Linked DNA regions of Homo sapiens: region 2 is linked to region 1. Evidence: promoter capture Hi-C in human tissues and cell types (Jung and others, 2019). All regions are on one chromosome and are shown on one strand. The core of a region is centred on a gene start or on the middle of the fragment in contact, and the rest is flanking DNA. Distances in the headings are between cores, read along the strand shown. Region 1 holds the start of CNOT7 (CCR4-NOT transcription complex subunit 7). Region 2 overlaps PCM1 (pericentriolar material 1).

Region 1 (4,141 bases), core at 467-2,966:
TGCCGCTGGCATAGTGAGGGCACAAGGGAGTCTAGATGCCAAGCATCAAAATGTTATACTTGATTGAAGATTTGTTTCATAAAATATTTTATCCTTTATTTATGTACCTGTCAAAATAAAAAAACAATATGAAGACCAGATATATCAAATCTGAATCACAGAATAATTGATCCAGCAGGAACCTAAGAAGTTATTTATTCAAAGTTCTTGACTCATAAAAAAAAAAAATCAAAGTTTAGAAAGTAACTTAAGGTCACACAGCTAGTCTATAGGAAAAAAAGGACTACAGTACAGATTTCCTGGTCCTAATTTCAGTTATTTTAAAATAGCTTTTTTACACATACATACTAATCATATTTTATAACTTTCCACTAATTATTTATCTGAGTTCAACTACTCTGCATAAAACTTTATAAAGCCATCCATTTCCAGACAAAAAATGAAAAATTACTTATTTACATGTGACAAGATCAGATGTTACCATGGCAAAGATGGTGTTTATTTTTATTCCTCATTAATAAAACAACCAAAATCCGACTTGATAACAAGATCTACTTTACCGGCGTTTATTCTAACTAGACTAGAGGGGTCAAAAATGTTTGTAAATGCTCTGAGAAAAAAGTAACGGCCATGAAAATTATCTGAATGTTCGCAGTTGCAGAACGGAAAAAGAACACAATAGAACGTCTAAAACTTAGAGCATATTGCATGGTTACCAAAGATAGATGTCACATTTCTGGTCTATAAACAGAGTTCCTGTTGATTCTTGGGCAGGGAAATTTCAAATCCTTCTGCATTTTTCATACAAATTGGAAAAAAAAAAAACAAGAGTAAAAAGAGGGTCTTATGACTGTCTTCTAAACTCTGAAGAGTCACAAATGTAACTTCCAATTCTCCAAGTAGAGAAACTAAAGGAGATCCAGGACACCCCTCCTTTATAACTCTCCCACCCCGATAGGCACACACACACACATAAGCACAAAAACACAAAGACTTGGAAAGACCCTGTAGTCTAACATTGTTTTCCTCCACCTCTCTCTCTACTGCAGTCCCAGAAGCCCCGAAGAGACACCAAAGGCCTTCTCATTACTGGAGAAAGCATCTCCGTACTGCAGTTTCCCAGAGAAACGAGAGGACGGCACCGAGGTATTCAAGCCATAGATAACTCTCTTCCCTGGCAAAGCGCCAGTGCGAAGGTGCTGATAACACTGACTGGAGCTACACTGACTCCCAAGCACTGCCGCGTGAAACAATACGAAGAGGTGAGGATCTAGGCCACCGCCCTCCACTCCCAATTTCCGTCCCACTGCGAAGCCCCAGGTACAAAGCCTTTGCGTCATCACTACGCGCCAACCCCTTGACAAACCCCCAGCCCCAGTTACCCAGCCCCCAACCCGCCGCCAGGCTCCTTCCTCCGCCAGCCGCACTCCAGCTGGCGCCATCGCGCACCCTCTCAGGTTCATCGTCCCCGCCCCCTTTCTACTTCCCTAACCCGCCCCTCCCCCCGTAAGGCTGCAGCGGATGCAAGATCTACTTGTGTCGCTGAGCTCGCGCTCCTCCTCCTCCTCCTCGCCATAGAGACAGCACTCGGCGGCGGTGGCGGTGGCGGTGGCGGTAGCGGCGGCGGCAGCGGGTGCCCCATAGACACCTCTCGCCCAGCGAAGGGAAAGGCGAGCAGGAGCTGCGCCGCACCGTGCTGCGCCGTCGCTTTTCGCACGTCCTGACGGGGGCGCTAGATGATGACGCGACACGCAGAGGGGGCGGAGAGCGCCCCCGGGGGCGGGGCACGCAAGTGACGGCGGCGCGGGTGGTGGAGCGCTGGGCGGCCAGGCTCCCTGGCTGGCCGGTTTGGGCGTCTGGGCCGTGAAGGTGGGACCTCCTGTTCCGGGCCGCAAGTTTCCCTCTCCAGCCGCCCGCCGTTCGTAGCATGTCCCCCAGAACTCGGGGAGCGCAGGCAGGACAGGCTTAGAGAAGACGCGGTCCCCAGCGCTTGGGCCACGGACGTCCCACCCCGCTCCTCTGTCGCTGGAGAACCGCCGGGCCGAGCCACTGGGAGAAGCAGGCCAGAGCCTTCCAGGGCCTCCGGCCCGTGGACCCGAGGAGGATGAGCTGGCTTTTTCCCCTGACCAAGAGCGCCTCCTCCTCCGCGGCTGGGTCCCCCGGTGGCCTCACCAGCCTCCAGCAGCAGAAGCAGCGCCTGATCGAGTCCCTCCGGAACTCACACTCCAGGTGACTGGTCGCTGCCTCTCCACCGGAGGAAAAAGTAGGGTGGGAGGGCGGGCTTGTCCTAACCACCCTCACAGCGCCTCAGTCTGCTCCCCACCAGCTCCTCATGTGGTTTACCTCCCTTGGTTGTGGGTCACACGCTTGCTCTGCCACTCCTGCCCCCTTTTACTGTTTTCCTCCGGACCCTCCCTGCCTCCTGCCGCACCACTGCTCAGCGCTTCTAACTCGGATTTCCTCATCCCTCCTGACACATAGCTGCTGACTGTAATCTCTCAATCTCTCTCATAGTCTATTTCCAGTATCCCTTGCTGCCCAGGCTTCGCCACTGATCTTTCCCTTTGCCCACCTGATTGCCGCGTCAGCAGAATTGTTAAAATACAATTGTGAAGAGTAATCTCCAGGTTTCACAAAGAATGGAAAATAGAACTGTTGCAACATCAAAGGAAAGGGAAGCCAGAGTTTTCATCAGTGAATGCTTCTCGTCTGAGAGTCACTTATCACGTAGTCAGTCTTCTTGAGTCTCTAAGATTTACCCTGTTGGAGCAGTCTCTCCCCATCTCACAGCGACCAGTGCATGTACATTTCTCACTTCTTTCATAGTCTTGTCCCCACGCTCAAGAATTACTTTATGTTCATCTTGATTGTTCTGTTGTCTTCCTGTGAGTTTTTCATTTTATCATGGTCAGTTTAGAAATATTTTTACAATTCATATTATTTCAACTTTTACTGTAAATTGGTTTGCTGCAGCCTTTTACATTGCAAATGTCTATGGTCTCTAATGGTTTTCAAAAATTAGAACTGCTTCTTTATATTTTATGCATTTTGCAAGTATATTTACTTAACAGTTTCACACTATTTTAAATAAAGATGACAACATTGTTAAGTCCCTAACCCCTTTTTTTTTTTTTTTTTTTGCCGGGGGTACGGCTCTCCTGTTGCCCAGGCTGGAGCGCAGTGGCGCGATCTCGGTTCACTGCAACCTCCGTCTCCCGGATTCAAGCAATCATCCTCCCTCAGCTCCCCACACCCCTCCGAGTAGCTGGGATTACAGGTGCGCGCCACCATGCGCGGCTAATATTTTGTATTTTTAGTAGAGACGGGGTTTCACCACATTGGTCAGGCTGGTCTCGAACTCCTGACCTTAGATTATCCACCCGCTTCGGCCTCCCAAAGTGCTGGGATTACAGGAATAAGCCACCTCGCCGGGCTCCTAGCCCTTTTAAAAATATTATTTTCATACAGTTAAAAAATATGTATCCTCAGATAATATCGAATAATTCTTATTTAAAATGGAATAATTTTTAATTAAATAGTCTAGTTAATAGAAAAATTTACTGCAAAATCAGTTTGGCTAAAATAAGGCCTGATGCTGACTGAACTTTAGGTGTTTCTTGGTTCGTTGTCTCAATTGTTCTGTTTGTTCAGAACTTTCAAAAGGTGAAATTTTATGCTGTTTAACAGAAAAGAATGGCAGGCTGTTATTGGTGGCTTTCATTCTGGAAAATTAAGTTCGCAAAGTTCTTACAAGTCACTCTTACTCCAAATCATGTTCTGTACTGACCTTTAAGAGCTACTCTCACAAGGTATGCTTATAAAATAAGGGGACTCGTTTTTAACATGTTTGTTCCCTTAGAAGTTGTTACCTTGGTAGACTATATACCAAACCAGTCCTGCTATTGCAGAAACACTTTTTTAGAACCACACTTTTGGAATTAATTGCTTTTAAACCTTAGTATGTAGTATTATGTTAAATATTTTCAATGCTGACTAATTTTTTTCTTCGAGGTTGGAGTTTAATTTTTTAAATACTACAAAGTCTCTTGCTGCTAAGGCTGGTAAGTAAGGGAAGTAATTGATGTGAAATTTATAATTTTGGCCTCCCAAATAAAGTGAGATTCTATAGCAGCAATTGTTA
Region 2 (4,141 bases), core at 416-2,915, 740 kb after region 1:
AAACTTTTAAAAGAAAATGGGAAAAAATTATGACCTTGACATAGGCTAAGTTTTCTTAGGACAGAGAAAGCACTAACTATAAAAGAAAAAATTAAGAAATTAGACTTAACAAAAATAGGAATTTTCTGCTTTTCAAAAGATACTGTTATGGGAAAATAATCCCAGTATATATATCTGACAACTGTCTGATATATAGACTGTATAAAGCTTACAACTCAGTTGTAAGACAACTCAGTAAAAACTGGGCAAGAGATTTGAACAGGCACTTAATGAAAGAAGATATATGAATGGCTAATATGCAAATTAAAGCCACAGAAAATACCACTTCACATCAAGAATGGCTAAAATGAAAAGATTGACAATAAGAAGTGTTGGTGAGAATGTGGAACAGTTGGAACTCTCACAGTCCTTATGAGAATGTAAAATTGCACAACCACTTGGAAAGCAGTTTGGCAGTTGCTTATAAACATAAACGTGGCATGTGACCCAGCAATTTCTCTTCTAGGTATTCATCCAAGAGAAATGAAAATATGCATCACAAAAACACTTGCACATTAATGTTCATAGCATCTTTAGTCATGATAGCCTCAAACTGAAGCATCAAGAGATAAATGGATAAACAAACTGTGGTATATCTATACAGTGGAATACTGTGCAGCCATTAAAAAATAATTTCTGAACTTCTGAAACACAAAACATGGATTCATTTCAGAAACATACTAAGTGAAAAGTCAGACAATGAAGAGTGTATATTGGCTGGTTCCATTTGTATGAAGTTCTACAACCAGCAGAACTGATCTACAGTGATAGAAATCATGAGTAGGGTGTGGTGGAGATTGACTGTAGAGGGTTGTGAAGAAACGTCCTGGGCCAGTGGAAATGGTCTTTATCTTTAGGGAATCTGGTTACATGAGTGTATACATTTGTCAAAACTCATCAAACTGTACATTTAAAGTGAGTGCATTGTATATTAATTATATTTCAATAAAGTTTATTTTTTAAAAATGCAAATGATGTTGTGATGTTTTCTTTTCTGATGTGAGACAACCAGGTAGAGTAAGCTACTAGACATTGTTAGCATTTGGAGATAGGAGAATGTCCCTGAGAGTATAGAAATAATGTAAAATGTTAACTTTGCCAAATTAGAATTTAATCAGTAGCTGTCTTTGTGTGTGTTTATCTACATAATAAATATTCTGCAAGGCTACTTATATCACTGTTCTCTGTGACTCTGTATTCAGCGTTTAATAACTTTGGTTATATTATCATCTTGTTTGGACAGAATACTGAGGAAACTTATGAATATCTTTTAAGTGTACAATTTTATGTAAATACTTAGTTATCTCTGTTAGATTATTAATATGAAATTCTTAGAAGTATTAGTGATTTTTGTTTGTTTTACTGTAACTTAGGAAACTTTTGAGAAGAACTTTGAAAGAGAAACCCATAAAATAAGTGAGCAAAATGATGCTGATAATGCTAGTGTCCTGTCTGTATCATCAAATTTTGAGCCTTTTGCAACAGATGATCTAGGTAAGCAGAATTGTTTATAATCTTAGAAACAACTTTAAGTTGATCTGGTCCAGTCTTTGAATTGGCGTTGATAAGGAAACAAGTCTAGAAAGGCGAAGTGTGTGTGGTTGAAAGAATGTGGACTTAATTATCTATCAGTCTAAAATCAAGAATCTTCTGACTCTTAACCCTGTGAGCAAATCATCCAACATTTTTGACTCTGCATATACTAAGGAAATGGGAATTTTAACCTACCTTGCTATGTTCTTGTGAAAATATAATGTAACTTACTTGCTTGAGTTCAGAAAATGTTAATTTCCTTTTCCTTAAAGGAAAGGTCATCGTTTAAGGTCATCTAGTTAATTCATGGGAACAATTCAGGCCTCATCTAATCATATTTTTAATAAAAATATTAACTTTGTAATTTGAGTTAAGCAGTCAGTTTTCTTAAATAACCTGTAGTGAAAACCTCAAGTAATTCTCAGGCATAGCAAATGGTTTTGGTTGTTTTTTTTTGTTTGTTTGGGTTTTTTTTTTTTTCCCCCTCTCCCATCAGCTGTAAAACAAAAGAGGTTTAGAGGGTTGCCTGGCTGCAGTGGAGAAAAAATTCGAGTCCTAGACTTGGAAAGGAAATTTAAGGAAAAGAAAAATATGTAGATACTTGATACGTTTCTAGACTGTGGCCAATCAAAAGAGAACCTGAGAATTCAGTCATTTGCCATCCAGGGTGCTTAGTTGATAAAATAATGTAATGTCCTGTTACTCTAGTGTTTGTTCACGTGATGAAGAGAAGACTTAGATTATTTCAAAGGTATTTTTCCACTATAAAGAAAAGGACTTAGCCTTGCCCTATCATTACATTCCTACTGTTCGCCAAAACAAAAGTCTTCCTTTTGCTTATTGTAATTATTGAGGACTCAGCCTTAGCTGACCTCTAAGTAAATGCTTATTTGGGTCTGCATTGAGTTCATCCCATTACAGAGAAAAATTACTGTGTGGCCTGCCAACCCTCACCCCTTAGGTTGTCCCTCTCTTTCTGAGTTGCCAGAATACTTCGACTCCTACGTATTTTCTTTCATTTACTGGTATTTTTTTTTTTTTCTTACAAACCTGCACCAGTAGCTGTGTCTGAAGTAGACATAGAATTGGGAAATTTCATTGATAGGCCTTTTTCTTACCTAATTTGCTTGTTTTAGGTTGCGTTGTTTTCATCAGAATTTGCATGACATTTTGGAATTCACTTGTATTGTTTAAATGAAACAACAAAATGAAATAAATATGGGCTTCAGAGTTTGATAACTAAGTTTAAATCCTTGTTCCTACATTGAACTGTCTGTGAAAGCTTGAGCAAGTTACTTAAATTTTCTGCAAATGAAAGTAATGTCATCTACTATATAGGATTATTTTAAGGATTAAATAAGTGTGACAATGTATATGAAGTGCTCAAGTAGTATAGTGTGTAGAACTTGTTAAAGCTAATTTTCCTCCCTTTTGTTTGGACATTTTTTTATTAATGCATTTTGAGGAATATATGAAAAAGTTCACTTTTACATACTCAAAAAATATTTTTGTTCCAAATGTAGGTAACACCGTGATTCACTTAGATCAAGCATTAGCCAGAATGAGAGAATATGAGCGTATGAAGACTGAGGCTGAAAGTAACTCAAATATGAGATGCACCTGCAGGATTATTGAGGATGGAGATGGTGCTGGTGCAGGTACTACAGTTAATAATTTAGAAGGTATATATTTTTGTTTTCGGTAGGTTTTTGGAGAACAGGTGGTGTTTGGTTACATGAATAAGTTCTTTAGTGGTGATTTCTGAGATTTTGGTGCACCCATCGCCTGAGCAGTATACACTGTACCCAGTGTGTATTGTTTGATCCCTCACCCCCTTCCCACCCTTTCCCCTGAAACCCCAAAGTCCACTGTATCCTGCTTATGTCTTTGCATACTCATAGCTTAGCTACCACTTATGAGTGAGAACATGCAACGTTTGGTTTTCCATTCCTAAGTTACATCACTTAGATTAACGGTCTCCAACTCTACCCAGATGGCTGCAAATGCCATTACTTTGTTCCTTTTTATGGCTAAGTAGTATGCTGTGGTGTATAAATAAATAAACAAATATATCTGTCTATCTACACATATATACATATACCACATTTTCTTTATCCGCTCGTTGATTGATGGACATTTGGACTGGTTCCATATTTTGCAACTGCAGATTGTGCTGCTATAAACATGCACGTGCAAGTATCTTTTTCATATAATGACTTCTTTTCTTCTGGGCAGATACCTAGTAGTGAGATTGTTGGATCAAATGGTGGATCTACTTTCAGTTGTTTAAGGAATCTTCATACTGTTTTCCATAGTGGTTGTACTAGTTAGTTTACATGCCCACCAGCAGTGTAAAATTGTTCCCTTTTTACCACATCCACACTAACATCTATTATTTTTTGATTTTTAAATTACGGCCATTCTTGCAGGAGTAGGATGGTATCACATTGTAGTTTGTGCTTTGATTTGCATTTTCCTGATAATTAGTGATGTTAGAGCATTTTTTCACTCAACATCACCAAAAAGTTTTTTGGCCATTTGTGTGTCTTCTTTTGAGAGGAGTTGTCTA

Evidence for each region. Contacts are between HindIII fragments. The study calls those that stand out against the background at their distance.
Region 2: a fragment that was not itself captured here is called in contact with the fragment with the promoter of CNOT7 in region 1 in 1 of the 25 tissues and cell types used here (lymphoblastoid cells).

Annotation. Positions count from the first base shown.
Region 1 is chr8:17,245,141-17,249,281 of GRCh38, forward strand. CNOT7 (CCR4-NOT transcription complex subunit 7) reads right to left here and starts at 1,717. Exons shown (of 7, transcript NM_013354.7): 1 at 1,535-1,717; 2 at 1-107. The coding sequence starts at 12. It overlaps VPS37A (VPS37A subunit of ESCRT-I), which reads left to right and starts at 1,818. Exons shown (of 12, transcript NM_152415.3): 1 at 1,818-2,229. The coding sequence starts at 2,105. RefSeq lists an enhancer at 1,466-2,314. The HindIII fragment of the contact is 14,692 bases long and covers 1-4,141 here.
Region 2 is chr8:17,988,447-17,992,587 of GRCh38, forward strand. PCM1 (pericentriolar material 1) reads left to right here. Exons shown (of 39, transcript NM_006197.4): 27 at 1,413-1,533; 28 at 3,096-3,254. Among named protein-coding and RNA genes, the nearest start is that of PCM1, 68 kb to the left of the region's middle. The HindIII fragment of the contact is 6,094 bases long and covers 1-4,141 here.